Regions from separate parts of the Homo sapiens genome. Here regions 2, 3, 4, 5 and 6 are each linked to region 1. The links are contacts of gene promoters, found by promoter capture Hi-C in blood cells and fetal thymus (Javierre and others, 2016). All regions are on one chromosome and are shown on one strand. The core of a region is centred on a gene start or on the middle of the fragment in contact, and the rest is flanking DNA. Distances in the headings are between cores, read along the strand shown. Region 1 holds the start of ENOX1 (ecto-NOX disulfide-thiol exchanger 1). Region 2 overlaps EPSTI1 (epithelial stromal interaction 1). Region 3 holds the start of DNAJC15 (DnaJ heat shock protein family (Hsp40) member C15). Region 4 overlaps DNAJC15 (DnaJ heat shock protein family (Hsp40) member C15). Region 5 overlaps DNAJC15 (DnaJ heat shock protein family (Hsp40) member C15). Region 6 holds the start of LINC00400 (long intergenic non-protein coding RNA 400).

Region 1 (5,035 bases), core at 1,854-4,353:
TGTCCCCTTTGGTGGTCATCAGAGAAGTTACAGCTTTATTAACATTCCTCCCACCCACCAAGTAAGACAAGCACTTGGGAAGCTGTTGAAACTAGGGATTTCAACCTTCTGAAGGTTCACTGAAAATCACCTCGCAAAAAGCAGATTAATAGGAGAAAAGACATACAAAACTTATTTTCATGTGCATAATCCAAGGGAATTGCAGGAGAATGATTGCCCAATAACCCAGTGGGGTACACAGATGCTCATATACCCTTCTTCATAGGGGAAGAATAGAAAGGGAAATGTGGATGATTTTAAGGGGGATAGTAAAGAATTTTTAGTGGAATTCAATGAGCTTGGTGAACATAAAATGGCCTGGGATAAAGTCTGTTGGGCCCGCAGAGGAGTGTGACAAAAGTATGTCCAGTTGTGTTGACAGGCTTCAATCTTTCTTCCTACGACGTGAGTTAGATTAATAAAAACTCAGGGAAGGCAAGTGCGTTCTTCTTTGGCAGATCTGGTTTCTAGGCAGATGAAAGACCTTCAGAGAACAATTTCATCCTGTGCTTTGGGTGAGACAGACGACTGAGAGACAGGAGGCAGAGAGAGGGTCAGAGAGACTTTGAGGCTGCTTCTTCAGTCCAGCATGTCAAAGTGCCATATTTTCCGGTATTAGTTTCTGAGCCCAACAAAACCCTAAAAGCAACTTTCTAAGGAAAATGAAGCTTTAAAATTGTTTTGGAAAATTCTGACTCATACCCATTCTATAGGTTGGCTGTCAAGGGTCCATTTTCGGTATCAGAGTTTTTCTGCTTCTTTTGCAAGTTTTAGAGCTTCCTTTCAAGTGAGAAATTTAAGTAAGCTTTCAACCTAATAAAAAAGCTCCAATATCACAACAAATGTCTTCTAAGAAGATTGTCAATTGAGTGAAGGTAGATAAATCAGTTAAAGGGACCCCCACTAAAGAACACACGGTACCCAAATAAATCCATTTTAATTTTCACTTTATTTCAGTTATATTTCACAGCTGTGGTATCATGAGTGGAGAGAGAAGCAGCTCATAGGCGGGCCTGAGTTCAAAGGAATTGAAATTTAGCATGAAATGCAAAATTGAAGACTTCTGCTTCTAAGACGATGATTGTAGAAATACCGAGGTCGAAGGATGTGGACTTGGTGCTACACCAGACAGCAGAATTAGCAGTCTGGGGTGACCCTGCATGTATTGGTCAGTGTCCATGAACACTACTCTTTACAGGAGAAAAATGCGTACCTGATAAGCTATTAGAAATGTGTATTTCTGGCCTGGAGCGGTGGCTCATGCCTGTAATCCCAGCACTTTGGGAGGCCGAGGCAGGCGGATCACTTGAGGTCAGGAGTTGGAGACCAGTCTGGAAAACATGGTGAAACTGTGTCTCTACTAAAAACTAAAAACTAAAAAAAAAAAAAAAAAAAAAAAAAAAAAAAAATTAGCCGAGCGTGGTGGCCGGCGCCTGTAATCCTAGCTACTAGGAGGCTGAGGCAGGAGAATTCGCTTGAACCCGGGAGGCAGAGGTTGCAGTGAGCCGAGATCGCGCCACTGCACTCCAGCCTGGGTGACAGAGCGAGGTTCCGTCTCAAAAAACAAAAAACAAAAGTGTATTTCTCTTAAAACTGTTTTCCCCATCCTTCTGCTCTAGAAGGGACAGTATAAACTGCTGGTGAACACTGACTTTCACATTTTGAGAGGTTAGGTTCTGAGCTTTGGCCCCCTCACACCCAGGGCATCCCACTGGGGTCCCTGCAGAGTGCTTCTACATGCATCCTTTGTTAAGGGTGCACAATGGATAAGTATTATTTTCTTTCTTTGCATTGGGGTTCTGACCGCCAGGGGGAAAAATAGCCACACACAAGGAAATGGCATAAGTTAAAATCAGGCAAGCCTAGTGGGGTGGTAATGACTTTCCCAGCATCCAAGTCTTTGCCTTCAGGTTACGTGAAGCTAGAAAACAATGTCATTCATTCAACATTTACAGGGAACTCACAAAGTACAGAGTACTATGCTAAGCACTGGAAGGCATGCAAAAGTGTGCAAAACACAATCCCTGCATTGAGGATTCCTGCCAGAAAGGGTATTTCAAGTATTACCCAGACCTTACGACCCTTGAAGAAATGCTTGTGTGAATAAAATCCCACTCAGAATTTAAAATAAGCAAGGAAAAGTATACTACTAAGACAATATATCTGTTAAGAGGCAGAGAATGTAAATGTGCTTTAAACATTTATTTCTGAAGTATTACAATGTAGTTGGGATGGAGGATCGGGGGATGTGGGTGTGTGTGGGGAGGTGGTGGGAGCGGTTCTTGGACGAGCCTGACTCTAAGGAGGCACTGCTTAGATGCCTGCACAGCTAAGTTGAATCCTAACAAAGAGGAGGCCGGCATTCTTACCTGGGAAGTGGGTAACTTTGAGAAAAAGTAGCCTCCAAGGAGGAAAAAAAGGCAACATGTCACCTGGGGTTAGGATCCCCTCACCCTTACCAACCTGAATGCTGACCGCACCCCGGCCGAGCCACTCTGGGCCGCACACCCCGCATCATCTGCCCAGGCCACGCGGCCCAATTCCACCGTCTACCCCAAGCCCACAATCCTGTAACACGCCCGCTCCAGCCTGGAGTCGGCCACGTGCGCCCGGGTTCTTCTCTTGGCCCTTCAGCGGGCCCGGCCCCTCCAAGGTCGCCGTAGCAACCGTGCGGTCCCTCTCTCGGTTCCCCCGCTCCCAGTAGAGCAGTCCCGACCGCGGCGGCGGTGGCGGGAGCGAGCGGCCTCGGCCCCTCCCGAGAGGGGGCAGCGCGACCGTGGGCTGCGGGCGCCGCCTCTGCTGCATCGGTGGCTGCGCGCTCCGCTCGGCTCTGCCGGGCTGGGATCCGGAGCCCTAGCGCGCCTCGCTGACTTCCCCTCCTCCTCTGCTGCCGCCCCGTGGGCAGCTTCTCCAAGCGAGACACGCGTTCGATCCTCCTTCCCCGCGTTTACGGATTTCCGGGGTCGTAGAATTTTGCCTCGGTCCCTACGAGCATCTCTCGGCCTCTCTCCCCCTCCCCTCGCGACTCCCCCACCCCGTGGGCGCGCGCGCACCCATACACTCACACTCGCAGGCGCGCGTGCGCACGCCCGCGCGCCTCCAGCCGCGGAGTCTCCAGCGCCCCTCAGCAGATCCCCGCTCTCCCGGGCGCCGCTACTCACACAGGCTTCCAGCCGCCACGGGGCGTCCTCTGTCTGCTGCAGCGGCGGCGGCAGCAGAGGGAACGGCGACTGCAGCCCGGCCGCGTCTCCCAGCTCCGTGCCCGGGACAGAGTCCGGGAGAAGCAAAGGAGGAGGAGGACGCCGAGGCTAGGAGGAGCCGCGCCGCGCCCGGCGCCCCACTCCGCGCAGCGGGTTGCCTCCGCTCCCCATACGGCGGCCCCAGGTAAGCAGCTCCGGGGCCCGCAGCCTCCCTGGGGCGTCCGGGCTCCGAGCCGGGGTCCTCTGGTCTCACCCCCGCCACGGCACCTGGATCTAGACTGAGAGGGGAGTGGGCGAGGGGGGAGGGGAGTGGAGCTAGAGGTGAGGCTGGTGAGGAGGGGTGCGTGGACGCGTGGGGGCTTCGGTGCAGCCCCCACGCCCTTCCCCGCCGTGCCCCGTCTCAAGCTCCCTCACTTTTACGCGCCCGGGGGTGCCCAGCGCCCCAGACAGCTGTTCCCCGCTCTCCCCTCCGCCCGCCAGCCAGTGTCAGCTCCGGGCTCCGCGCCCGCCGCGCGCCAGTCACCTCCCCTGCACCTTGGACAGCGCACCCCGCACCCGTCTCCCCCTGCGGGCGTCGCCCCCGGGACCCGTTCCTGCCCACACAGTGTTCCCGCTGCCCTCTTCTTTCAGGTTTTCACCCTCCCGCTCTGCATCCCTTTTCCTCCAGCCTTGGCGGACTCCGCTCTGCTGCGGGCCGGAAACTTTCCTCCCCGCCTAGTCTGCGCTGGGTACTGTTGTTATTCGTGACTGTCCCCTCTCGCGGGGAGCTCGGACACCTTGGACAGGTCTTCGTCGGCGGGAGCGCGCCCTGCCTGGCCCAACGCGAGGTAAAGGAGGCACTGGGGCAGCCGGACTCGGCCGCTGCCAGGGTGCAGAGCCCGCGCCTCGGCCGCTGGACGCCGGCCGCCTCCCCGCCTCTCCGGACCCGACACGTGCGAGCCTCCCACGGACGCGGCCCCTCCCAGACCACCCCACGTCCTCCCCCTGCACGGCCACAGCCACCCCATAGGTTGGACACCCGGGGCTCGCGGGTCCTGATTGGCTGAAGGCGTAACCCCGCCCTCTTTCGGAAGGGGGGTGGTTCTGGAGTGTTGTGGTTGTCATCCCGCGGCGAGCACATGGGGAAAGTGGGGTCGACAGGTGGGCAAGCCCAGCTCTGTGGAATCTCTGCGTCTCACTGTATAGCCACTGAGCCACGCTTCTTCACCCAGATACACTCCTGCTTCTCTCCTTTTCTCTCCCTCAATCTTTCACTGCTGTAACATTACATGAAAAAAACTGGCTTTGTAATCCCAATTTTGTTAAGATTGCATTTGTTTGGTGGTAGCAATTTTTAAAAGCAGACCCAGGAGAATGCAGGAAATACGTGCGTATGGAAAGGTTCCTGGCCAACTGGGCTGCAGATTTGAGTCTGGTAGTTTGGAGAAAGCAATGAAGCGTGCTTAAGGGATCTGAAGAGGGTGGAGAAAGTGGGAAGGAAATTGATTCCTGGAGGAGAGACGCAGGTGAGCGAGCTTGGAAAGCTGAGCTGGTGGGCCCGCTCGAGAGGTGGGTGCGTGCTGTTGGAGACGGCTCTGTCAAGCAAAGTGGTAATATTGGCTGGTACTTAGTTTATGGTTAACACACTCTGCTTTTGTTTTACTAGCGTTGCCACTTTGATAGAGACTTTATATTAATAATGTCTATTCATGTAATGGATATTGCTCATTCCAGTTTCTTGTAATATACAGATTTGAAAGTGATAATGAGTTTGAAAAAGTGAAAGCCCTCTTGGAGGAGATGCGTTAAACAGTTAA
Region 2 (5,035 bases), core at 1,402-3,901, 820 kb after region 1:
GCATTGCAAATGGCCTCTAGGATCAGTCTGTGGGAACAGAAAATGTACCAATGTTTCCTGTACCCCGGTGTGGTCACACAGAAGAGAATGCCAATCTAAAGCCATCTTAAAGGAATTTACTCACAAGCACCACCTAGAGGAACGGTGGAGCCCTACAAGGACAGTACACCAACTAGTCACTTGTCACTCATCGAATGCTTTATATTTTCATATTTGGCCATGTCCTTTGTTTTACTTTGACATCAAGATTGTGAGGTCCCAGAGAACAGATCAGGGTCTTAAGAAGATTATCTTTCATAGTGCCTATTTGATGGTAATGATCATAAATACAGTATAATAGAAGGAAAAATATCTGGTGGCTTATATGCATTGGTAGTTTCTCATGGTAATAAGCATTTTTTTTTCTCTTCCTTTTAGCACAAGTGCATACACCTTGATAGCACCAAATATAAACCGGAGAAATGAGATACAAAGAAGTATGTATAGTCATTCATTTAACATTCAGAATGCTTCTCTCTTTTTACAATTGGTTTGTTTTGGTGTGAAGTATTTTTATTTTCTCATTTATATAGACTCACCAAATCTCATCAAGGTTTTTTGTTTTTTTTAGTTTTGATTATACCTTTAAAAATATTCTACTATTAACACTTCTAAGTTTGTTTCTCTACGTTAGTAACAGAACTCATGACATGATGGTAGATCCTGGATTTCTGTTGGCTTGAACAACTTTACACTTATTGCCAATAAACCTCCTTGAGGGTAGGGACCACATCTTACTCGTTTTTGTGCTCTCTGTACTTAATGCGTACATAACATGTTTAATTGATGTACAGTAAATATAAATGCTGCCATTTAAAGTTATAGCATTATCCTTTAGAGGTGGAAGAGAACTAAAGTTCATTTAGTTCACAAAGAAATTGTAGGCTTGCTCAAGTCCAGCTGTGGGGCTATGCTGAAATTCGATGGTCTCCTTTATTACATGATTGGTAGGAAATTTAACTTCATGACTAATGATGGACAGAAAGGCACAAAAGGGAAAAAGCTCTCTAAAGAGTCTCCACCGGACATGTAGCTCCGGGTGGGACAGCGGGTCAGTGCAGAATATGACAATCACAGCCATGCAGGGACTATGGGAACTGCCAGCAGTTCTGGTATCTTACAAGCTTTTGATTTAAATACTTAATAGGAGATTAAGTCTCAATGTGGTCTGGATTTCGAAATGTTTCAGAATTTGTTTTTCTAGTAATGGACATTTGAAACAGGTCTCATGAGGAGATAAGGGGAGGCGCTGGAGTGACAGAACTAATTTCTCTCTGGCGCCCCCTGCTGTCGTGCAGAGTGAACATTTAGGAAATGAGCCCTGCTCCCCAGGAAGCCGACTCTGCACAGTGGTCTGGAGTGCCTGAAACCAGAGCAAGGGTCTCCACCTGTAGCACCGAGCCCTCATTCCCTAGAGTCGCAGTAAGCTTGGGAGCATTGAAGATAAAGCGAGTATGGGCATCAGAATTCTCTGGGGATATGTTTACCTATGTGTGGAAAGTTCTTATTGACGTGAAAATATTCTAGTTTTGCACACATTTTCTATAGGTAACTTTAAAAATTAACTTGATATAGAGTTTTAAAAATGCCAGAATGGTAGGAAAATCTATACTTCTTTTAGTAGGAGCCCAGGTGGTTTTTCAAATTCGAACCCTCTGTGCTGACTCTTGGTGAGAATGTGCCACAGGGCCGGGCCCAGGATGACCTGTACGGGTCAGGGCTGAATATTGTGTTTCTAACCTGGAAGCCTTGTTCACTCATGCTCACATATAGTTAATTGCCTTCTAATAGTTGTTTCTTATGCTTTGAAGGGACTGGTTTTCTTTTAGAAGTCTAATAATTGACGATTTGATATTTCTCGCCTGGCTTAGTTGCGGAGCAGGAGCTGGCCAACCTGGAGAAGTGGAAGGAGCAGAACAGAGCTAAACCGGTTCACCTGGTGCCCAGACGGCTAGGTAAGCAAGCACAGCCGCTGCCGGAATGAGGGAGGGCGGGGCCACCTATGGATCCTGTAAGCAGCTTGCATATGTCTGTCTGTGAATGTCCATTGTAGTTTGTTTGGTCATTGTGCTGCTTGGGTGGAATGCATTTAATTGTGTGTGTGTGTGTGTGTGTGTGTGTGTGTGTATTTTTTTTTTTTTCTGATTTTCTGCAAGTAGCAAACCTGTAATGCCAGAGTTCTATGGGAACACAGTGATGGCTTAATTGCCAAATAATTTAGAGCCTCTTAGATGATTGACTCTGAAAAAGCTTACCTGGGGCGCTGCATATGCCCTGTCATAGCACTAGTCAGGATGGGAGTAAATGCTGGCACAAGCATATTAATCATGGCAGTTAAATGTTAATCTGAAGAAAAGGAGTGGAGAGTCAGTTCCAAGAGGGAGATGAGAGTGAGCTGGAAACCCGGTGGTGGGTATAAGAGAAACATCACCTGTGTTTTTATTCTACAGATAGAGACCTCTGGGCCTCTGGAGCAGGTGCTGCCAGTGTGATGAATTGTCTGGGCCGCCTTTGCCGGTGTTTGAATCATTCAGAAGGGATGCCACCTAATGGGAATCATTCACATCTTTTCTTTGCTTTTTCTCTTCTATCAGCAGCCGAAAATTTAAAGGGTTGGACACACAGTGTCCACAGATTTAGTTAATACAAGCATGTCTTGTGTCAGGGGCCACTTACGGTTGTGATAGTTTTAGAGAAGTTCCCTCCCCACACCCTGCCCCCCCACCAAGAACATAGGTAAAAATAATCTAATTTGGAAATTATTTAATGGGAGGAAGTAATAGTAATATTATCATCATCCCACTGTATTTCGTGAAAAGGGCTAATCTCAAGTGCCTCCTTTGTGCAAATGAGCCAGACTCGAAGGGTACAATCAGAAAACAGCTTTAATCTTTCCTAGCTTGGCCCCTGAGATTGGCTATGTGAGAACAGTCTTTCTCAGGCTTTTTGGATGATGTAAGAAATTAAAGCTTTTTGGTCTCTTTCAAACAGTAGAGTGACCTAGCTAATTCTAGGCCTAAAACAGTCTCATTTCAGTAATTAATGTTCAGTCTTAGGTACTGATCAAAATTCTGTTACTAATGGAGATGAGAGCTTCTCCCCTGCTCTAACCCAGGCCTGTTTCAGGTAGGAATCCAGCAAGTAGAACAGGGTGTGGCTGGACTTTTCTCTATTCATGGCTCTGTTCCCAGATTCTGACCTTTCTGGGATTGAAGGGGGAAGTGGAGGGAGATAAGAGAGTTCGGGGTTCGTAATGCAGTGATCCTTGTTTCTTTGAGCCTAGGTTTACACTGACTGCTCGTTCTTCTTCCTGGGAATCTTCGAGTTTTTCAGCATCCCCCACTCTCTGCTACCCATCTCCCACCTGGATTTCCCTGATACAGACGATTTCCTCTCCTGTCGGCAGGGCTTGGCCTCACTGTTGGCTCTTGGTAGACTCCTTTTAGGGTTCCATTGTTCTTGACATGGCCCTCATAGGCAAGTCCCTTTAGATGGCTTTAGGTTGGCATTCTCTTTCATGAGAATCACATTAAAAGTACAGGAAATACTTGTGCATTCTTTCTTTTCATAAACTGTGAATGTGGGCCATTTGTAATGTAGCTACCTCTTCTTGAGGACTCATCTCAGTGGCCAATGGACAACAGCCTTATACCTTTAGGCTCTAACTGTTCTAGGCATGAATCCAATAAGACCCTCAGACTCTTAAAAATGCAGGTTGAGGTCTCCAGCTGATTTTCTTTTTTTTTTTTTTTTTTTTTTAATTTATTTTTTTATTGATAATTCTTGGGTGTTTCTCACAGAGGGGGATTTGGCAGGGTCATGGGACAATAGTGGAGGGAAGGTCAGCAGATAAACAAGTGAACAAAGGTCTCTGGTTTTCCTAGGCAGAGGACCCTGCGGCCTTCCGCAGTGTTTGTGTCCCTGATTACTTGAGATTAGGGATTGGTGATGACTCTTAACGAGCATGCTGCCTTCAAGCATCTGTTTAACAAAGCACATCTTGCACCGCCCTTAATCCATTTAACCCTGAGTGGACACAGCACATGTTTCAGGGAGCACAGGGTTGGGGGTAAGGTCACAGATCAACAGGATTCCCAAGGCAGAGGAATTTTTCTTAGTGCAGAACAAAATGAAAAGTCTCCCATGTCTACTTCTTTCTACACAGACACGGCAACCATCCGATTTCTCAATCTTTTCCCCACCTTTCCCGCCTTTCTATTCCACAAAGCCGCCATTGTCATCCTGGCCCGTTCTCAATGAGCTGTTGGGCACACCTCCCAGACGGGGTGGTGGCCGGGCGGAGGCGCCCCTCACCTCCCGGACGGGGCGGCTGGCCGGGCGGGGGGCTGACCCCCCCACCTCCCTCCCGGCCGGGGTGGCTGCCGGGCGGAGACGCTCCTTACTTCCCAGATGGGGTGGCTGCCGGGCGGAGAGGCTCCTCACTTCTCAGACGGGGCAGCTGCCGGGCGGAGGGGCTCCTCACTTCTCAGACGGGGCGGTTGCCAGGCAGAGGGTCTCCTCACTTCTCAGACGGGGCGGCCGGGCAGAGACGCTCCTCACCTCCCAGACGGGGTCTCGGCCGGGCAGAGGCGCTCCTCACATCCCAGATGGGGCGGCGGGGCAGAGGCGCTCCCCACATTTCAGACGATGGGCGGCCGGGCAGAGACGCTCCTCACTTCCTAAATGTGATGGCGGCTGGGAAGAGGCGCTCCTCACTTCCTAGATGGGATGGCGGCCGGGCGGAGATGCTCCTCACTTTCCAGACTGGGCAGCCAGGCAGAGGGGCTCCTCACATCCCAGACGATGGGCGGCCAGGCAGAGACACTCCTCACTTCCCAGACGGGGTGGCGGCCGGGCAGAGGCTGCAATCTCGGCACTTTGGGAGGCCAAGGCAGGCGGCTGGGAGGCGTAGGTTGTAGCGAGCCGAGATCACGCCACTGCACTCCAGCCTGGGCACCATTGAGCACTGAGTGAACGAGACTCCGTCTGCAATCCC
Region 3 (5,035 bases), core at 794-3,293, 760 kb after region 1:
GCAGCCTGTAGACATGTTATTGTCTAATAAAATATTTCACCTTTATGTCTCAATTAAAGCATTATATTGATTATTAAAAGTTATGTTTACAGGTAGATTTTATTGTCTATGAATCTGACTTCAGGATTTCAGGATATTACAGGACACAGACAGTTTGAGAATCACTGGCCTACACTTTAGCCTTCAAGTACCTGGACTACTAAAGATGCTTCCTATGTGGTACTCTGGATTCTGTAAACTCTCTCCTCTTCCAAGTAAAAATACCTACACATGTAAAAGTCACCAATATTAGTTCTATCTTCCAATTACCACAGCTCCCAACTACCTTGAAAGCCTGATACTCGGATTTTTACGACTCTCCACAAAAGGATTACTTCTGCCTGATCTTGTTCAGCTGTATCATACACTGAATACTATATCCAGAAATCCTTATTTCTAAGGAGTCAGCAAGTCATAAGGGAAAAAGTGTAGCATTTGGAATCGTAGATCTGCCACTTACCAGGGATGATCCTGGACCAGTTACTTAAAACTTTCTAAATCTCTACTGCCTCATTTTTTTTTCTTTGTTGGAGACAGGGTCTAGCTCTGTCTCTCAGGCTGGAGTGCAGTGGCGAAATCATAGCTCACTATAACCTCAACTCCTGGGCTCAAGTGATTCTCCCGACCCAGCCTCCCAAGCAGCTAGGACTACAGGCTCACACCACCACACCCAGCTAATTTTTTTTTTTTTTTTTTAGCAGAGATGGGGTCTCCTGTGTTGCCCAGGCTGTCCTCCAAACTCATGGCCTCAAGTGATCCTCCTGCCTGGGCTTCCTAAAGCGCTGGGATTACAAGCCTAAACCACCACTTGGGCAATATTTCATATTGAATGTTGAAAATTACCATGCAACTGTGCATATATCAGGTTAAAGAAAATACATGGTTAAAATCAAACCCACCTGTTTCTCTTCAGTTGTTTAATATGGCTACAAAAAACTTAAAAATATGCCGGACGCGGTGGCTCACGCCTGTAATCCCAGCACTTTGGGAGGCCGAGGCGGGCGGATCACGAGGTAAGCAGATCGAGACCATCCTGGCTAACACGGTGAAACCCCCGTCTCTACTAAAAATACAAAAAATTAGCCGGGAGTGGTGGCAGGCGCCTGTAGTCCCAGCTACTTGGGAGGCTGAGGCAGGAGAATGGCCTGAAACCGGGAGGCGGAGCTTGCAGTGAGCCGAGATCGCGCCACTGCACTCCAGCCTGGGCGACAGAGCGAGACTCCGTCTCAAAAAAAAAAAAAAAAAAAAAAAACGTAAAAATACGTATGTGGCTCACAATATGCTTCTGTTGGACAGTTTTCTGTTAGACCCTTCCTTTTTCCAGCTCTACAGTTCATCCTGAATACACCACTTGGAGTTTCCAACTGGGCCCTGTTTCTGTGCCGGAGACTTTGGAGACAGTAGTCCTGGTACCCGAAACACTTTTTCCCCTTCTCCTTGCTGAATGGACTGTTTTTATTCATTCAGATCTTAATTTTTAACTACAGCTTTCTCCAAGAAGCGTCCCTGATCCCACCACGTCCCCTGCAAGACGTTTTTAGGGCCTCCTATGAGATAGGAAAATCCACATACAGCACTTATTTTACTGTATTTGCAATTGCCTGTTTTCTGGTTTGTGTCCCAGACAAGACTGGAAGCTCCTTGAGGAGACAGATCCTCAGAACTGCTCCGTCTTCCACGCCCAGGCGTCAAAGCCCAGCACAAAGCGGTCTCTCCACTGAACAAGTGAGCGCTAGGGCACAGACCGTGAGCGAATGCGGGGGAGTACAAAGGTTCAAGGGTGAGGCGGTAGAGGGGGCTGAAGCAGAAACTACAAGGGAGCCAGAGAGGGGTGGGGGCCGCTGGCAGGACTCACCAGTCTCTGCTGGTCGACGTCGGCGTCTGGCCGTTTGGCCGAGGGCTGCAAGTACTCAGCGTAGCGCAAACTCTCGCCAACTGGAGCGATGACACCACGGGCAGCCATGGCAAGGCGGCCCGGAGACTCAAGGCGCCGCGGCAGTGACTACGAGGCGGCCGTAGGGACAAACTAGTTAGCGCGGTTTCTTCTCGCAGATCCAGTGGACTCTGCGCTCGTTGTGCTATTAAAGGCGAGGTTCCCGGAAGATACCCTTCTCACCCGAGCTGGGTAACGTGTCCCGTGCAAGCACGGGGTCACACTCCGAAAGGAGCCAAGGGCACTGGGACGTTCTTGAATCACACTCACAGGCGCAAAGCCAACGCGGACCCTCAGGGAGCTTTATATACTTGGGCCTGGTCCCTCCCCAGGCCGCCGTAAGGGACTGGGCTTAAGCCCTGCGAACTGATGTTGGTCGAATCAGATGACTGCCCAGTAAGCTCGGAGTCTAGCTGTAGTGCCTGAGGGTGGGCTTGCCTGAGCTTTCCTGACCCCCTTCCGGGCAGCCTTTCTTCCCACTCTCAACTTCTGTTCGCACTTCTGTTTAATGCCACAGTTCTACCACCCCGGGAGAGAAATTAAAGAGGCAATTTGCTTACTCCACCCCCAAGTAAATGGCTGTATTTAAGGTGAAATTACACAGAAGAAAGTTGTGGCCGGGTGCGGTGGCTCACGCTGTAATCCCAGCACTTTGGGAGACCGAGGCGGGTGGATCACACCAGCTTGGCCGACATGGTGAAACCTCGTCTCTACTAAAAATACAAAGATTAGCTGGGTGTGGTGGTGCGTCCCTGTAATCCCAGCTACTCAGGAGCCTGAGGCAGGGGAAAAAAAGTTGTGAGCAAGTAGGTAAATCTTACTCTCCCTCAAATGAGTTTGTGCTGATTTGTATATATAAAAGCCCATTTTATTATTAAGCTTTTTTTTTTTTTTGAGATGGAGTCTCGCTCTGTTGCCCAGGCTGAGTGCAGTGGCGCAATCTCTGGCTCACTGCACCCTCTGCCTCCCGAGTACCTGGGATTAAAGGCACGTGCCACCACACCTGGCTAATTTGTGTATTTTTAGTAGAGACGAGGTTTCACCATGTTGGCCAGGCTGGTCTCAAACTCCTGACCTCAGGTGATCCGCCCGCTTCAGCCTCCCAAAGTGCTGAGATTACAGGCGTGAGTCACCGCGCCTGGCCTCCATCAAGTTTTTAGAGCAAAAATTAACCAGCAGTTGAAGCGTATGGTGTTTTCCAACTTCTGTACCAACGTGGCAGCTCTTTGGCTCCTTATACCCTTTGCAAAATCAGCTGACAGGAAGAAAAAGCTTTATTTTTTTTCTATTCCTGAATTTAAAGTTTTGAGGGTCTATTAATTTGTTCACTTAGTTAATATTATTAGCATGTCTAAGAAGTTAGGTCCTAGAAATTTACAATCTTGTAGGGAAGATAACACTGACACAGAATAATAGTACATACCAGAACATGAGCACATGCATTGCATAGCAGTATAAAGAGAACTGGACTGGGAATTAAACCGCCATTGCAAAATTACAACTGAGAAAGAGATCTGACCTAATCAACACCATCTTGCTTCTAACCTCCAAGCTGTCTTGTACATTCCTGGCCGTAGGCCAAACTAACTTTGGGAGGAATGTAATTCATAGTTTATAGTTTGAAACAAAGATGATAAAAGCCCTTTCCCAAAACAAACCTCCTTCTTGCCTGGGGACTAGACTGCCTTTGTAGGACTAACAAATTAGCCACAAGATCAGAAATTATGACTTAGGAGTCATGCAGCTGGAGGCTACAAGATTCTGACCCTCCCCAAATTGCTGCTGGAGCTAACATCACTATTGTAAAAACTACCACCAGTGCTTGAGATATTTTGCAGACCCCGCACTTGATGAATCAGCTGGCATCACCCAGATCGATAAACTGGCTCATCTGATCTCGTGGCCCCCACCCAGGAACTGATAACGCAAGACAACTTGGACTCCCTGTGATTTCATCTTTGACCTGACCAATCAGCACTCCCAGCTCACTGGCTTCCCCCTACTCACCGAGTTGTCCTTAAAAATTCTGATCCCCAGCTGGGCGCGGTGGCTCATGCCTGTAATCCCAGCACTTTGGGAGGCCGAAGGTGGGTGCATCATGAGGTCAAGAGAGTGAGACCATCCTGGCCAACATGGTGAAATCCCATCTCTACTAAAAATACAAAAATTAGCTGGGCGTGGTGGGTGCCTGTAGTCCCAGCTACTCGGGAGGCTGAGGCAGGAGAATCGCTTGAACCTGGGAGGCAGAGGTTGCAGTGAGCAGAGATCGCGCCACTGCACTCCAGCCTGAGGACAGAGTGAGACTCCGTCTCAAAAAAATAATAATAATAAATAAATAAATAAAAAATTCTGATCCCTGAATGCTCTGGGAGACTGATTTGAGTAATAATGAAACTCCAGTCTCCTGCACAGTCAGCTCTGCATGAATTACTCTTTCTCTATTGCAATTACCCCGTCTTTATAAATTTGGCTCTGTCTAGACAGCCAGCAAAGTAAACCCATTGGGTGGTTACAGGAATAAGGAAGACATCTGAGTTCTAGTGTACCTCCATTATTTTCTGGGCTTGTATAACTGAACATATCCATTAACCTCTCCAAATTACCTGTAAAAGGAGAATAACATTTGTCCAACATTCTGACTCAGGGAAGTTGTGCAAACAAATATAAACCTCAAAGAACCAATCCTTCAAGATGGATCCCAAGTGGCTAACTAGGACTAACTTAAAATAGAGCCAAACCTTCCTTTTACACTGAAATCTGTGGCTCTCAGGTTTGCAAACTGTTTATTGGGATAGTCTCTCTCCTCTAAATTCCTTTTCAGAGAACTTTTCATTTACATAGGGATAAAAAAGAAAACGACAGGATATGGAAGCAACTTGTATAATGCACTTATGAAAAGAATTACAACCATAGTGCTCTTGGACTTTACAGGAGGGAATGGCCACTTTTAACAGGGGTCATCAGAGAGGTTTAGTGAAGGCTTAGCCATTGAGATGAGGTAAAGAATGGGTAACATTTCTTTAGATGGAAGAGAGGAAATGCCAGAAATTTCAACTGGAAACA
Region 4 (5,035 bases), core at 1,558-4,057, 720 kb after region 1:
AAGCAATTCATTTTTTGTGACCTATACCATAATATAAAGATACTATACATAAACATTGAAAATTTCTGGTTTTATGATCATGAACTAGAACTTGATAAATTTAATAGCTGTGATAATGGTATTAACATGACATTCTGTCCTCCAATAAATTATAAATTTGGAAAAAATGACAGTCTTTCTGGTAAGTTTTGAAATATTTATTGAAATAACATATATAAAGTAGGTAGTTTAGTAGTTTTACATTTAGTAGTATTATATCAACTTTGACATAACTTACTTTCCCTGTTTAATTACTGTTCATTTATTTAATAAACATTTAGTGAGTCCCCATCCCTGTGCCAGGAACTCAGAATAGCAGAATAGCGGATGATCAACTTGGTTTGCAGCAATTTGACAATCTCAAGTCTCAACCAAGTTGATCTATCCCAGATCTGCTTCTGTTTCCCTGAAGCCAATGTTTACGCTGCAGGGCCTCACTGACTTTTCTTTATATTGTCTTCAGTGGTTACAAACTACAATCCATACTGTTGCTTTTACGGATACATACTCTCATTCATTTTTTCACTTACATTCAGCTCCCCAGAGTAGCTATAATGCTGGTACAAAAATGTATAATAAGTTCTACAGGATTTCATGGTTGAAATCTCATAATTTTATGTTTGAGATGGCCAGGCATGATGGTATAAGGGGACTAGTTTCAAATTACAAGATGGCATCAACTCTTGGATAAGCTTCATCAGGACAAGAACCATGTCTTCTTTGTTCATCAGCTATTCCAAGCTCCTGGCACAGGGATGGGGGACTCACTAAATGTTTATTGAATAAATGAACAGTAACTAAACGGGTAAAGTAAGTTACATCAAATTTGATGTAATACTACTAAACAGATTATAATAATTAGATGTCAAAACCAGGAATAAAGTTAGATATAAAAATAATGTGACCAATAACTTAAAAGAAACTGAGCCAGTAAATTAGACAAACTCACCAATGATATAGTGAAGGAAACAAACTTCTACAAACATTGGAAAATCCAAGACATTTTCTAAGTTAATTGAAATATGTCATATGAACAAAAATCAAAATGAGTCTTCTAACTAAAGCCACGTTTAACTTACAGGAGTTGAAATCTTCTTTGCAGTTTCTGTGATAACTTGTTCTAGAGGTTTCCAGATCCGAAATGCGTAGCGACCTAAATAGTAAAGGGAATAAAAGCAAATGTATTTTCTATAATCAAAATCAATCAACACCTTCAAAGTGCTTGCAACAGTATTTATTGATAGTTTATATATGTTATTGCAATAAGTATTTCAAAACTTACCAGAAAGATGGTCAATTTTTTCAAATTTTTAATTTATTGGAGGGCAAAATTTCATGTTAATACCATTATCATAGCCATTAAATTTATCAAGTTCTAGTTTATGATCATAAAACTAGAAATTTTCAATGTTTATGTGTAATATCTTACATTTATATTATGGTATAGGTCACAAAAAAAATAACATCCTAGTATTCTTTATACAACAAACTGTAAAGTCCTATTACATATAAAAGATACTTATAATACTAAAATGGTTAATTGTATTGCTTTTTATGATAATCACTTTGAAATATATAGAAAACAAATTATATTTATGATCTATACTACACAGAAATGGTTTTAATCAATTATCTCTAAAGTAAAAAAGCAATTACATATGAAATACTTACCAAGGATGTTAATTATCAATTTTTCTCACTGAGGATGGCTACTCTCTCTGAAAACTTATTTTTAGTTCTTTCCCTAGTTGGGAATCCCAATAATCAAAACTCCCCTGAGTTTTAACAACTAAGAGTCAATAGTAAAACAGGTTCTAAATTATTTTGAGGGCATCAAATAAGAGTAAAATATTATCTAGCTACTTTATCTTTTGCACCCCAATCAGATTGTGTCTTCTACTAGTATCTCTTTCTCCAAGAGTCTTGCTAGAAAACCAGTATATGACACTACAGGCTTTAATTCAACTTCTAACCATAAGCCTATTTGCAAATCAAGAGTTCTACTGCAAAAATTCAACTACCTATGTATACTGTTTTAGAAAAATTTACCTGCCTATGTATACTGTTATTCTGTGCAAACATGTTACAGTGAAAGACAGGATGCCAGAAATGGGAAAATGTGAAGATAAAAAGGTCTTGAGATAAAGGAGAACATTAAATAAAGTGAAATTAAATGAGGCTGATTCCCTAACTTGCCTGTATCTCTTATCACATAGATGTCATCTTCCATTTGATTTTATAATAGTATGAAATGTAGCTTTTATATTACCTCAAAATTCTTCAAAACCACAGTGACTGACTTCTAATCTCAGTTAAAAAGCAGTTAAATGCTTCAAGAAGTGACACCTGGAGGTTTACTCTAACTAGAAGACCTAGTTCTAACACATCTAAGTGTACTTTCTCCTAAATTCTATTATTTGGTTGTATTTGGCTCTGGAAGAGATCTTGTTGTTATTTAATATAATATTCTAGTCAGTAATACGAGTTTGGGAATGGTGTGGTCTATAAAGAATACACACACCAATTCTTGTCATTTTACAAAGACGACCCTGGAAAAAATACATCTTTATCTAATTTCAAATCAAAACCTTACATTTGAATTCATAACTATGCCTACTCTAATTAATACTAAAATTCCTTTATGTTTAGGGGCAAGTTTGTCAGAATTCTGTTTGAGACATGATATTCTTCTCATAAAACCTCAGAAATTCATTAAGTATAAGTTATATAACTGAGACATAAGACCTTGATGACAAAAACATCAAGAGAATCTGAACCACTGATCTAGATTTTAAAGTTCTGATTGTTGAAGTGTTTCATCATTTCCAAGACAAAAGGTTAAAATAGTGTTTTAAATGATAATTGTGAGAAAATAAATACCATACAAAACAAGACCCTCTTATTTCTCATTTTTCTATCAGATCTTACTAAACTCTATATAGCCAAAATGGAATGCAGCTCTGCCTAAAAGAGCCAATTAACAAGATCAAACCGATAGAACTTACAAACACAAATGCTAGAACAAAAAAGTAAATCTTTATCAATAAGGACATATTCTCAAATTAACATTTAATTAGGATATAGCTATGTAATTTAAAACTGCTGTAAGTTAATGACAGACTCAGCAAATTTACTTTAGATCTTCAGAACTATTCTTTCGAATGGGCCGGGCACGGTGGCTCACGCCTGTAATCCCAGCCCTTTAGGAGGCCGAGGTGGGTGGATCACGAGGTCAGGCGATCGAAACCATCCTGGCTAAATTTTGTATTTTTATACTAAAAATACAAAAAACATTAGCTGGGCATGGTGGCTGGCGCCTGTAGTCCCAGCTACTCGGGAGGCTGAGGCAGGAGAATGGCATGAACCCGGGAGGCGGAGCTTGAAGTGAGCAGAGATCGCCCCACTGCACTCCAGCCTGGGCAGAGCAAGACTCCGTCTCAAAAAAAAGAAAAACTAGCATTGTGCTGTGCTGAATAATGGCCTTCAAAGATGTCCATGTCCTAATCCTTGGAACCTGAGAATATGTTACCCTTATGTAATAAAACTGACTTTGCAGATGTGATTAGGTTCAGGATCTTGAGATGGGGAGATGATCCTTGATTATCCAGGTGGGCCCAGTGTAATCACAAAATCTTTTTAAGAGAGAAGGAGGAGAGTGACAGTCAGACAGAGGTTGGAAGATGCTAAGCTGTTGGCTTTGAAAATGGAGGAAGGGTCCATGAGCCAAGGATGAAGGCAAACTCTGTAGGCCAGGAAGGGTAAGGAAAGGGCTTCTCCCCAGAGCCTCTGGAAGGGGCACAGTCTTGCCCATTCCAAAAAAAAGAAAAAAAAAAGAACTATTCTTTCGAAAAACGTAATTTTAGCAGTGAAAAAAATTCCCCAGGGTTTATCAAGGTAATTATACCAATATGTTTAGAGACAAATCAATAAACTACACGGAACAACTATGCTCATGAGAAAGAACTGACAGCTTAAAATGTATAAACCTGTCTGCAAGAAAAAATAAATATGGGAGAATAAAGGCACTCCATGCCACTTACATTGCATAATATTAAAATTTCTTTTTATAGTATACTATACTTCAAACTGAAAAAAAATGCCAGGAATAAACTATTATTGGAGCTAGTTTTTCTGGCTTTTTATCACTAATTTTCTTCCCTATAAAGTTTATCTAGATTTTGCTACAATGACAAATGTTCAGTAACTACAAATGGTGGAAAGAATGAGAATGTATTATGTCTGAAAACCAAAACCTCAGAATACTAAGGGTCTACTCATGAATCACTGTAGATGCTATTTGGAAAGATTTCTCCTGCAATTTATTGGTATGTATTCTTTATCTTACCTGCAAATGCAAGAGCTGCAACACCCAGTCCTACAGCTATCAAACTTCTTACCTATGGAAGAAAAAATGAATATTACTTATGATGTAACATGCTGGGTTTTAAAAGTAAATCATTTTTAATAATGAGAATAATTACATTACAATACTACACTTTCTTTAAGCTCTACTGTGAAGATCAGGACTTAAAAAAATATGCAGTGTCTATGGGATTATATCTGCTGCTCACTGTATCAGCTAATTCTCAGTGAACTGATTCTAGATTTTCATTTAATTTCCATATATTTGAATCCACTCTAACCCAGAGCTTTTATACTACCTATTGCTATAATTTTTTCTATAGACGATTTTTAATAGGGGGTTTAATATATTTATCTTCTATAAAGATAAAAAGCACATATTTCCTCCTCCATATTTTACATTTGCAATGTTCAACAGCATTTGCTATACTTAAAAATTTCATGAAACCTTACATCAATGTTTAGGAAAGAAGTCAAGCTTCCAAACTTATCAAAAATGATAAAAAATTCAAAAGTTAAGGTCTACCTTCTAGACCAGTGTAAAAATTTTAAAATAAGGGTCCAAAATTCAGAATGTCAGATATAAGCTAATTCTGATGATAATTTATTTTAAATTGGCTATATACCCACAATA
Region 5 (5,035 bases), core at 1,647-4,146, 700 kb after region 1:
TTCACTTTCCTCCCCCACCCCCCTTTGACTTCTGAAATACAGTGTAACTTTCTACCATCTGTTATTTTAAAGCAGAAACAGCAATGAACATATGGGCTTTCCCTCTCAAGCAGCTGTAGTGTAGTTAAAGTTATAATAATTGTCTTTCTGTAAGATAAATTTACATTAAAAACCTGGCCAGTTAAAAACAAATGGCTCAGCCTCAGAGCCTTCCAGAATAAAATTCAGAAATTCAGAATCATCTATGACATATTACATTCACAGATTTGGAGGAAATCCTCTAACTCTTGTGCTTTTACATTGAAGGTTACATAAATACAATTCGTGATGCCCAAATCAGTTTATACAACCAAAGAGTCCATAACTCGTGTTTTCGATTTTTCTTGATAAAAATGGTAGGCGCATCAGATGGTTCAGGAAGTCATATATAAAAACCAGCAACTAAGTTCTTGAAAGCAGATAATATAAATCCACTACTTGTGTGAATCACTGAACTCCAACCTAAATGCTCATTTATGAGAAAAAAATCACAATACATGTGGCGCACAAACTTCCATCTCAACTATATATCATATATGACTTTAATCTGAAAGGAATTCACAGCATATTTTGATATACATATTATGAAAAATAGGAATTCTACCTACCTTTATCTGGGTGATTCAAAATCATGACTCTCCTATGAGCTGTTCTAATCTTAGCCTTGCCAGCAGATGGGCTGTAAAAAGAAATTACAGTGCTTATAATAAATAGCATCAAATGCAGATTATAAATTAAGGGTTTATATGGGTTTCAAAAAATTATACCTAATGAGAATTTCACCATCTTGTGGACAAATATGAAACTACAGCTTTCCACTTAATTCCACTAACCATCAAAATAAATCATTGATTCAATGTTACATGTGTTTTTCTTCAGTCCTTTGTAATGCCAATCCTTATTCTCAATCAATTTAAAAAACAAAACAACATATAGGTTAGGGGAGTCAGCTTCTGCAGACAATACTGTAAGTTTGAAAACTTATGCTTCTAAGTTATTTGGGGGGAAGGCGGTATATACGGTGTAGCAGACAAGTATTTGGATTCCAGAGGCATACTGCTGGACTTTCCCCCCCCACCCCCCAAGAAGGAGGAGTCTTGCTCTGTTGCCCAGGTTGGAGTGCAGTGGCATGATCTCAGCTCACTGCAACCTCCACCTCCCAGGTTCAAGTGATTCTCCTGCCTCAGCCTCCCAAGCAGCTGGGATTACAGACGCGCGCCACCACACCCGGCTAATTTTTGTATTTTAGTAGAGACAGGGTTTCATCATGTTGTCCAGGCTGGTCTCGAACTCCTGACCTCGTGATCCACCCACCTTGGCCTCCCAAAATGCTAGGATTACAGGTGTAAGCCTCCACGCCTGGCACACTGCTGGATTTTAATGCCAGTATTGCCACTTAAGATTGTGTAAGCTTGATCAAATTTTTATCCTCTTGGTGCTTCAGTTTCCTCACTGTAAAACAGGGCTAGAGCAACTGTAAGGATTAAATGAGTTAATGCCTACGAAATGTTAGAACAGTACCTGGAATGTAGCAAGTGCTTCATTATAGTTATCTTTTACCTTTACAGAGGATCTCAAAACTCTTTATGTCTCATAGTTATTTAGCTTTGTGAAAAAAACCCATGGGAAAAGCTTGGCTGTTAAAGCCTATGCTGTAAACAAAAATTAAAGTAGATAATTAAATAATCCTAAAATTATTTGGGTAAAACCCAATGTATCCAGTATTGGAAATGTTGCTTATTAGTACATTTTCTAGGCAAGGGAAAAAAATTAACACTAACAACAACAAAATCCTACTACTGCTACTTAATAGCTATACTATCTTGTTTAAGCTACTTAACTTTTCTGAGTCTCAAATGGGGATAATAATAGTTGACTTAAAGCACAGTGTAATTATTGTAAAGCTCAAAATAATTTAATTTGCATGGATGAACCACAACATAATAGCTAAAAGCATGTGCTTTTACAGTTAGTCAGAAACAGGTTCAAATTCTTGATTCCACTACTTATTAGCTGTGAAAGTATGTCTTGCTTAAACTCAGTTGCAATTTTCTCATACGTAGCATACACGTAATAAAACCTACCCCCAGGTTTATTTTAAAGAAAAATTAGATAATATAAGTAAAAAGATTAACATAACCTAGCACACATGAAAGTAAAGGATGCTTATGAGACTGTATTAGATATCTCCTGCATTTTGAAAATAAAGTGTAAATAACCTAACTTAACATTTCTTGGATGGCTCACAGCATTGTCATTATTACCAATTAAACTCTCAAGGTCTGCAGATGTTTGCTTGTCCTCCTACTAAATGGACCTAGAATGTTATTCATTTAAGTTCTATTTTGAACAGTGCCTCCCCTATGCTATCAGCTGTCAATCCTTGATTCTGCTATTGTTCTAGTCTTTGGCAGTTCCTTGCTAGTTACTTGCTACCTCTGATCTGTGGGTAAGTGATAGATCACCAAGCACATTAAAATGCACTATTAATTGCTGAGTAGGCACATAAAATAGTCTTCCATGAGTAAAATGAATTAAATATTTTCCTATAAGGACTTAAGAGTATTCCTCTTGGCTGTTTACCTATGTCTTTGAAGCAGCATTCTAAACTTACTTTTTGGCTTGTAGGTACCTCCCAGATAAACAATTAAACATTGTCTGGTTAAAAGACTACTGAATTTTGAGAAAATAACTGTTAAACATCATACCAGAGGTATGAACACTATACTGTTTAACTGCCTATTAAGAAACAAAAAAAATTACACTGAAAAATTACAGCTCAATGATTTCGATTTCTGTGGCTAATCTACATTTATCAACTCCTTTTTTTGCTACACAGGTGCTCTGTGGCACATCTTGCCTTTATTACTTATGTTTTCTAGCTGTTCTGTATGTATTTGGCATGTTGTGTTAGGTAGATTCTAAATAACTTTAGGGCTGAAACTATGATTTGTATCTTAAAATAGAAATTAGGATTGTAGGCCGGGGGCAGTAGCTCACGCCTGTAATCCCAGCACTTTGGGAGGCTGAGGCGGGCAGATCACAAGGTCAGGAGATCGAGACCATCCTGGCTAACATGGTGAAACCCTGTCTCTACTAAAACTACAAAAAATTAGCCAGGCGTGGTGGCGGGCGCCTGTGGTCCCAGCTACTCGGGAGGCTGAGGCAGGAAAATGGCATGAACCCAGGAGGCGGAGCTTGCAGTGAGCCAAGATAGCGCCACTGCACTCCAGCCTGGGTGACAGAGCAAGACTCCGTCTCAAAAAAAAACAAAAAAAAGAAATTAGGATTATATATCGTACAAGTGCTTAATGCATTTTACATCACCCTCCAAAAATGACTGTAAAAAGGTAAACTCCTTAAAATAACAAATACTCCATATTAGTAAATACTAATATTATAAAGGATTACTATGCAAATAATTTTAAAGTAAAAAAGGGGGAGCTTTAAAAACCTATTTCATAAATTTCATCACCATGTGGCCCTCTAAATAATGAGATAAGTTCAGTAAAATCCAAATTTCATATATATATACACACACACACATATATATACACACATATACGCATACGCACATATATGTGTGTATATATATATATATAGGTGAATGTTCTGCTGAACCATTGTATTTTTTTAGAAGATATATGGCAAGGTCCATTTTATTCTAGATATTAAGTTTTAGTTGAGCACATAATACAAAATCTGAAAATTACTCCGTCAAAATTTCCTTGATAATTAATTACAATGCTCTGAAAATCAGTTCCACATAGTTTTGTACATAAAACTCCACAACGCATTATGCATACTGAGGTCCACCAACCACTGAACTAAAGTAAACACAAGGAAGGAAAGTTCATATGCACAAGTATGGCATTCAAAACACTCTGCCTTTAAGATAATAATGATCAGACTCCTAATGGTGAGCTCTGGAAATGAGACCTATTCTGCTTTGCTGGCAGTGTTTATTTCCTTTTAGTTATTATTATATTAAGTCTCTTGGACCTTAATACATTTTAATATTAATACATGTTTGTTGCTGTAAAGATTAAACAACATGAGAGAAGCCTAGTTTTTAAGCTTAGTATAAAAACTAAATGTAGCTATGATGATATACCTCCAGTATAACTTTAAATATGATGGTACCTAGACCAGAGATTTCAAACACCTCCCTAGAATGCATCTGGCTGGCAGTGGGGGTATGTGGAGTGGTGTTCTTGGACCTTCTGGCAAATGGAGCAGTTTTGGTTTCATCTTTTTTTTTTTCTACTACTGAGCTTTTGAGTAACATATAGTGATATGGTTTGGCTCTGTCTCCACCCAAATCTTATCTTGAATTATAGCTCCCATAATCCCCTCATGTCATGGGAGGGGAACCGGTGGGAGGTAACTGAATGATGGGGGCGGGTTTTCCTGTGCTGTTCTCATGATAGTGACTAAGTCTCATGAGATCTGATGGTTTTATAAAGGGCAATTCCCCTACACATGCTCTCTTGCCTGCTGCCACTATGTAAGATGTGCCTTTGCTCCTCCTTTGCCTTCTGCCATTATTGAGGCCTCCCCAGCTATGTGGAACTGTGAGTCCATTAAACCTCTTTTTCCTTATAAATTACCCAGTCTTGGGTATTTCTTCATAGCAGCTTGAGAATGGACTAATATAGTTTATAAACAGAATTCTACAAAAGTTTTTAGAAAGCTTAAAAATCATAAATGTGCCAGGCATGGTGGCTTCTGCTTGTAATCCCAGCACTTTGAGAGGCTGAGGCAGGCGGATCACAAAGTCAGGAGATCGAGACCATCCTGCTAACACGGTGAAACCCCGTCTCTACTAAAAATACAAAAAATTAGCCAGGCGTGGTGGTGGGCGCCTGTAGTCCCAGCTACTTGGGAGGCTGAGGCAGGAGAATGGCGTGAACCTGGGAGGCGCAGCTTGCAGTGAGGGGAGATCGTGCCACTGTACTCCAGCCTGGGCAACAGAGCAAGACTCTGTCTCAAAAAA
Region 6 (5,035 bases), core at 776-3,275, 680 kb after region 1:
CCAAGAAGTCAGGAAACAAAGTGTAACTCAGATCCAAGCAGGGTTAACCAGGAAAGGCTGCATTTCTGTGTGTACCTGCTGCTTTCTTCAGCACTGCACTGTACAACATTCTGGGGCAGCCTGAGAGATGCAGACTATACAAATATAGTCTCACATCTCACCACCAAAGCACAAACATTCCAGAGGCATGGAAGCCAAAGTGTAAACACTTCTGCAGTCAACTCTTAACTATTCACATTTACAGAAGGAAAGAGCAAAGGCACCACTAATCCAAGAATAGATAAATGGAAAGATCACTGAGTTAGCTTTGGAATACACTCTTGCATATAGGTGTATCCATGTTCAAGGAACTCACAAGTCTGTTATGAATATTAGTCATAAGGAGTTAGAAACTTTCTCCAGGAGTCAGAAACCTTTTCACCATTTATTACAGCTACTGGAAATAGAGAATTAACTGGACAATCTCAAAGACACATTCTTAGACTGGTAACTAAAGTTCCATTGACTCCACCAGACAACTATAGAACTATACACAATTTTGGAATTTGGCAAAAAAAGTATGGCATGGACAAATAACCCTGTTCAAAATTGAAAATAAACAGCAGGAAACAATTTTTAAGAATTCTATAAAAGTACTGAAATTCCCTTTCAATTGCTGCAAGTTACCTCATTTCAGTTGTCTTGTTTTCATTGCCTCTCTGCTCCTTTCAATATATTCGGTTTTCTTGTTTTCATCTTTAATACACTGAGCTCTCTCTTCATTTCTTGTGCCAGGTCTGCTGCTTCACCTTCATGAGCTGTCTTCAGAACCTTGCTCTGGATGTTCTCCTTGAAAGCTCTTGTCCATGAACATTTCAGATAAAATCTTATCAAAGCTTCCTCCGTCATCACTCTGAGTCAAAGAAAGTCACTCTGCTAAACTTTACAACAGAACTTTTGCTATGTGCACTTGGATGGACATCGTAAGCTTCCAGGGAAGAATTAAAGAGATTAGGTACTCCTTGCCCATGATGCACAATGACACTGGATCCTTTCGTAAACCTAATTTCACATTTATAATCCCAGGTCACATGCATCAAAAAATGAGCCAAAAGTCATACAAGCCCCTTCATTCTGATTCCCACATATTTAGAATGAGTGCAATATAATATAAACAGCATGCGATTCAGAGTCTGAATTTGGTTCCTAGTGCCACCACTTACTGGCTATGTAATCTTGGAAAAGATCCTAAACTCCTCTGAGCCTGTTTCTTAACCTGTAAAATGGGGATACATAATAGTACCTCTTAGGCTGGCTATGAAAATCAAGGTAACATAGGTAGAATGTTTGGCACAGGTACTAAACGTTAGCTAATATTATTAATGCTTTTCTTAAAATGAACTTATTCTAATTATTGGCTTTTAGCATTATAGTTTAGATGTCCATATTGAACCAATATCTCTATGTGATTTTTATCCTGTCATAATTGAAGTTTGCCACTGTTGATCCCCCCTGCTAAGTTGAGATACTAATTTGAAATTTATGGCCAACATCTAGCCTGAGTGATCATATTCCACCCGTGTGAAATTAAGCTCCCTCTTAATGCTGAAGATTGAGTATTTCTCTACATCTATGTAATATAGTCTGTTCAGACTTAAAATTTGGAGCAGTGCTGCTAGATACTGTTGAATCGAACAGAGAGGGAAAGGGTTATTATGGCAGGAAGAGAAATGAAGATTACTTAATGAACTTGCATTTCAATTGAGCAGGGTTTTTAATACAAAAGAAAGAGCTTTTTATAAATTCTTTTGCTCAGCAACAATAAAAAGAGGAAAAGAGCACTCAGCTGGGAACAATAGCTACTCAGCTCATAAAAAATCATTAGAAGGAACATTTTCTTTGTCCACCATGCCCAGCAATTTTGCTGGTGGGCAATTATCCAGATCACTTAGGTTCCACCTATAAAAATGAGTCCAGAGAACCTTCTCAACTTTTCCAGCTAATAAATTATGCTAACAGAAGTCCTCATCTCTTAATGTGTGTAATGCCACCATAAATAAAATTTTGACTCATAATTCATGGAATGTTTTTGACAAGTAGATGATACTGATCCAGCCATTAATAGGATTTGCTCTTTGGGTTGCTTTTCCATTAGAAGGGACGGACTATGCTGACACATTTACTCATTCCCATCAAATCCTCCTTGCAGCCAGGAGCCTCCATCTAGTTGATGACTGTTGGGCGAGGTGCAGGGTGCCCGAGGACAGCATGGTTCCACTGTGTGAAATTGGCTGGTGTACTTGGATATTTAACTTTTCACTGCAGTCTCCGTAGCTCATCTTAAGTTGGTTGACTCAAGAGAAACTTCATATTCTTGACGTAAAGAGCCTGGCTGATTCATCTTCTCCCACAAATGGTATTAAACCATATTAAGCTAATTGTCAAGTGTGTTCAATTACCTTATCAATAAAAGCTCTTTTCTGTGTTCAAGGTTCCCCAGGACAACCAAAAGATTTCTGCACATGAATAAAATATATTATTTCTAATGATGCTGCTGGGTGATCAATCATAAGCACGCCCATTAATGCAACTCTTATATGTCTTGTTAATTAAAAAGTATGAAGGAAAAAGTTTCCTGTTTAAGAATGTATTTTTTTCAGTTTGAACATGTTGCACATTTTAAGAATGAATTTATATCTTTACTGCCTGATATAGTAAGTATTCAATATTTGCTGAATGTCTAAAATATATTTCATAAAAAGTAAAGTGCTTTGAAGACTAAACAATGTATTCCAAGCCCAACATTTTTTCCTTACTAAACTTCCCTCCACTTTTGACTTTACGCTGAAGACTGGCACCATCAACTAAAATCTAAATAGCTTTCTATGTTCCCCTTGAATTAACTGTCCTTGACTTACACTTTCTCTGCAATCGGAATTGTTTTATTTTTAAAAGGCCTTCCTAGGCCCTCAGATTGCATCTAAGATGTAAGTATGCACAGAAACTGCAATATCAACAGAGCTTAATTAAGCAGAATATGCAATGACAGCAAATATGCAAGCGCAATCTTTACTGAAGACAGGTAACCACTCAAATAAGCTTTTTACAGATAAGGAGTTGGGGGGAGGGTGTGGCTGGTGAAAATTCAGTTTTATAAGCCTACTGCCATTTAGATAATTACTCCTGAATATCTGCAACTGTACTTGTTCACTGCAACAATAAACAAGACTGATATGATCCTTGCTCTCAGAGAGCTCATAATTCATGATATTACTTTTGCTGGATGCACCAGAAAAAGAGGGATACATTTTAACCTTCTACTATGTAGGTATAGTTGTGGAGATCTGGGGATTAGGATGGCATCTTTAGGTACAAGGGTAACAGCAGAAAAATAGTTGTATTTATTATCTGAAACTTTCTGGGCTTATATTTCAAGTAACTGTAGTTCAATTATACATGCCTGACTTTGTTCTTAAGTAATGCCTTCACAGACTCAAGGGGGAAAAAAAATCCCAAACCTGTCCTGCTGCATATTAAAGATGAGCACTGATTCCTTCAGTCCTCTCTATCCTCTCCCTTTGAATCGAGGCAGGCTCTGTAATTCTTAGGCCAACTGAATATGGCACAAGTGATGCCCTGACAGTTTCCAGACCCAGAACAATTTGGCAGCTTCCATTTTTTGTCTCTCAGACCGACCACTCTCTGTTATAAGACAGCTGCTATGGTGACGATGCTCTAGTAGCCCTGTTGAGAAGCCTATGTAAAGAGGAACCTGTGCAGAAAGGAACTGAGGCTCTCAGCCAACAACCAGGCCCAACTTGCTGGCCAGAGAAGTGGTGCCTCCAGCCTGTTAATGCTGCAAGGAATAGAGACGAGCTGTCCCCACCATGTTCTATCCAAATTGCAGATTCGAGGGTAAAATAAATGATTACTGGGACATAACTGAAACTTTACCCTGAATCCAAGGTATTATTAAAGATAAAACTAATTAAATGAGGCAGTGAAAGAAGTAAAAATTACATTTTTTTAAGCATTTACGTGACTAAATGCTTTACACATCCTTATTCTCTACTATAACCTTATTTGACAGGATTTTTTAAAATTTCTTTTTATTATACTTTAAGTTCTAGGGCACATGTGCACAACGTGCAGGTTTGTTACATATGTAGACATGAGCCATGTTGGTGTGCTGCACCAATTAACTTGTCATTTACATTAGTATATCTCCAAATGCGATCCCTCCCCCCTCTCCCCGCCCCACAACAGGCCCCGGTGTGTAGGATTATTTTCTCTATTTTATAGATACGGGTTATTGACTAGAAAATTAAGTAACTGCCCAAGATCACATAACAGGAAGATAGTATTCAAAACCAGATCTGACTCCAAGGCACCTGCAAAGCAAATGGGAAATAAGGAAATTCCAAGCTAATGCTGGGGTGACTCAAATTCTCATGAATAAAGTATGGATTAGGAAAATATGACATCAATTAAAAGGTGCATCTGAGGGTGCCCCAATATTCCTTAGCAGAGCTTTAAAAATTAGTGGTAACATTTTTTGATGCATAGTATTCAGAAAACAGCAACATTTTCTTGGTACGTAAAACTTTATGATGCCTGCTAAATGCAAGTGCTCCAGAGTAAAGAGGTTACAAAGATGAATGGCAAGATCCTTGCTCTAAAGGTTCTTGCATTTTAGTATGAGAAATAAGGTATGTTACACCAAGAGTTGCTTCACAAGGTACCAAGCTATAGCCCCTATAGTTATGTACCATGTGAAGAATAAAGTGCTATGGGAATTTATTCATTCACTCAACAAATATTTATTGGGTGCCAATGTAACACCAAACAAGACAGATACAATGCCTGCTCTCAGAAAGCTGATAATTCATATTACTTTTGCTGCATGTACCAGAAAAAGAGGGATACATTTTAGCTTGGCCTTCAGCTATGCCTAGACTTTGGGCAGGTGGACATCTGGGGATTGGGATGGCATTCTTAGGTACAAGGATAACAGGAGAAAAGTGAAAACACTAAAGCATGAGAAAATTAGTAGGAC

What was found. Contacts are between HindIII fragments. The CHiCAGO score rates a contact against its expected background, and 5 or more counts as called.
Region 2: a fragment that was not itself captured here is called in contact with the fragment with the promoter of ENOX1 in region 1 in 9 of 17 cell types (M2 macrophages, M1 macrophages, naive CD4 T cells and 6 more); the score reaches 11.0 in M2 macrophages.
Region 3: the fragment with the promoter of DNAJC15 here is called in contact with the fragment with the promoter of ENOX1 in region 1 in 10 of 17 cell types (fetal thymus, M2 macrophages, M1 macrophages and 7 more); the score reaches 14.2 in fetal thymus.
Region 4: a fragment that was not itself captured here is called in contact with the fragment with the promoter of ENOX1 in region 1 in 1 of 17 cell types (M2 macrophages); the score reaches 5.0 in M2 macrophages.
Region 5: a fragment that was not itself captured here is called in contact with the fragment with the promoter of ENOX1 in region 1 in 6 of 17 cell types (M1 macrophages, erythroblasts, megakaryocytes and 3 more); the score reaches 9.5 in M1 macrophages.
Region 6: a fragment that was not itself captured here is called in contact with the fragment with the promoter of ENOX1 in region 1 in 1 of 17 cell types (M2 macrophages); the score reaches 5.1 in M2 macrophages.

What each region holds. Positions count from the first base shown.
Region 1 is chr13:43,785,040-43,790,074 of GRCh38, reverse strand. It overlaps ENOX1 (ecto-NOX disulfide-thiol exchanger 1), which reads left to right and starts at 3,103. Exons shown (of 17, transcript NM_001347969.2): 1 at 3,103-3,423. The HindIII fragment of the contact is 7,995 bases long and covers 847-5,035 here.
Region 2 is chr13:42,966,053-42,971,087 of GRCh38, reverse strand. It overlaps EPSTI1 (epithelial stromal interaction 1), which reads left to right. Exons shown (of 11, transcript NM_033255.5): 2 at 418-476; 3 at 1,911-1,994. Among named protein-coding and RNA genes, the nearest start is that of EPSTI1, 24 kb to the left of the region's middle. The HindIII fragment of the contact is 719 bases long and covers 2,292-3,010 here.
Region 3 is chr13:43,020,594-43,025,628 of GRCh38, reverse strand. DNAJC15 (DnaJ heat shock protein family (Hsp40) member C15) reads right to left here and starts at 2,043. Exons shown (of 6, transcript NM_013238.3): 1 at 1,895-2,043. The coding sequence starts at 2,002. RefSeq lists enhancers at 1,545-1,594, 2,105-2,154, 2,165-2,224. The HindIII fragment of the contact is 4,162 bases long and covers 1-2,853 here.
Region 4 is chr13:43,065,087-43,070,121 of GRCh38, reverse strand. It overlaps DNAJC15 (DnaJ heat shock protein family (Hsp40) member C15), which reads right to left. Exons shown (of 6, transcript NM_013238.3): 2 at 4,385-4,436; 3 at 1,119-1,192. Among named protein-coding and RNA genes, the nearest start is that of DNAJC15, 44 kb to the right of the region's middle. The HindIII fragment of the contact is 4,148 bases long and covers 734-4,881 here.
Region 5 is chr13:43,081,451-43,086,485 of GRCh38, reverse strand. It overlaps DNAJC15 (DnaJ heat shock protein family (Hsp40) member C15), which reads right to left. Exons shown (of 6, transcript NM_013238.3): 5 at 648-718. Among named protein-coding and RNA genes, the nearest start is that of LINC00400, 29 kb to the left of the region's middle. The HindIII fragment of the contact is 2,445 bases long and covers 1,674-4,118 here.
Region 6 is chr13:43,108,915-43,113,949 of GRCh38, reverse strand. It overlaps DNAJC15 (DnaJ heat shock protein family (Hsp40) member C15), which reads right to left. Exons shown (of 6, transcript NM_013238.3): 6 at 1-5,035. LINC00400 (long intergenic non-protein coding RNA 400) reads right to left here and starts at 785. Exons shown (of 3, transcript NR_047013.1): 1 at 667-785. The HindIII fragment of the contact is 2,111 bases long and covers 970-3,080 here.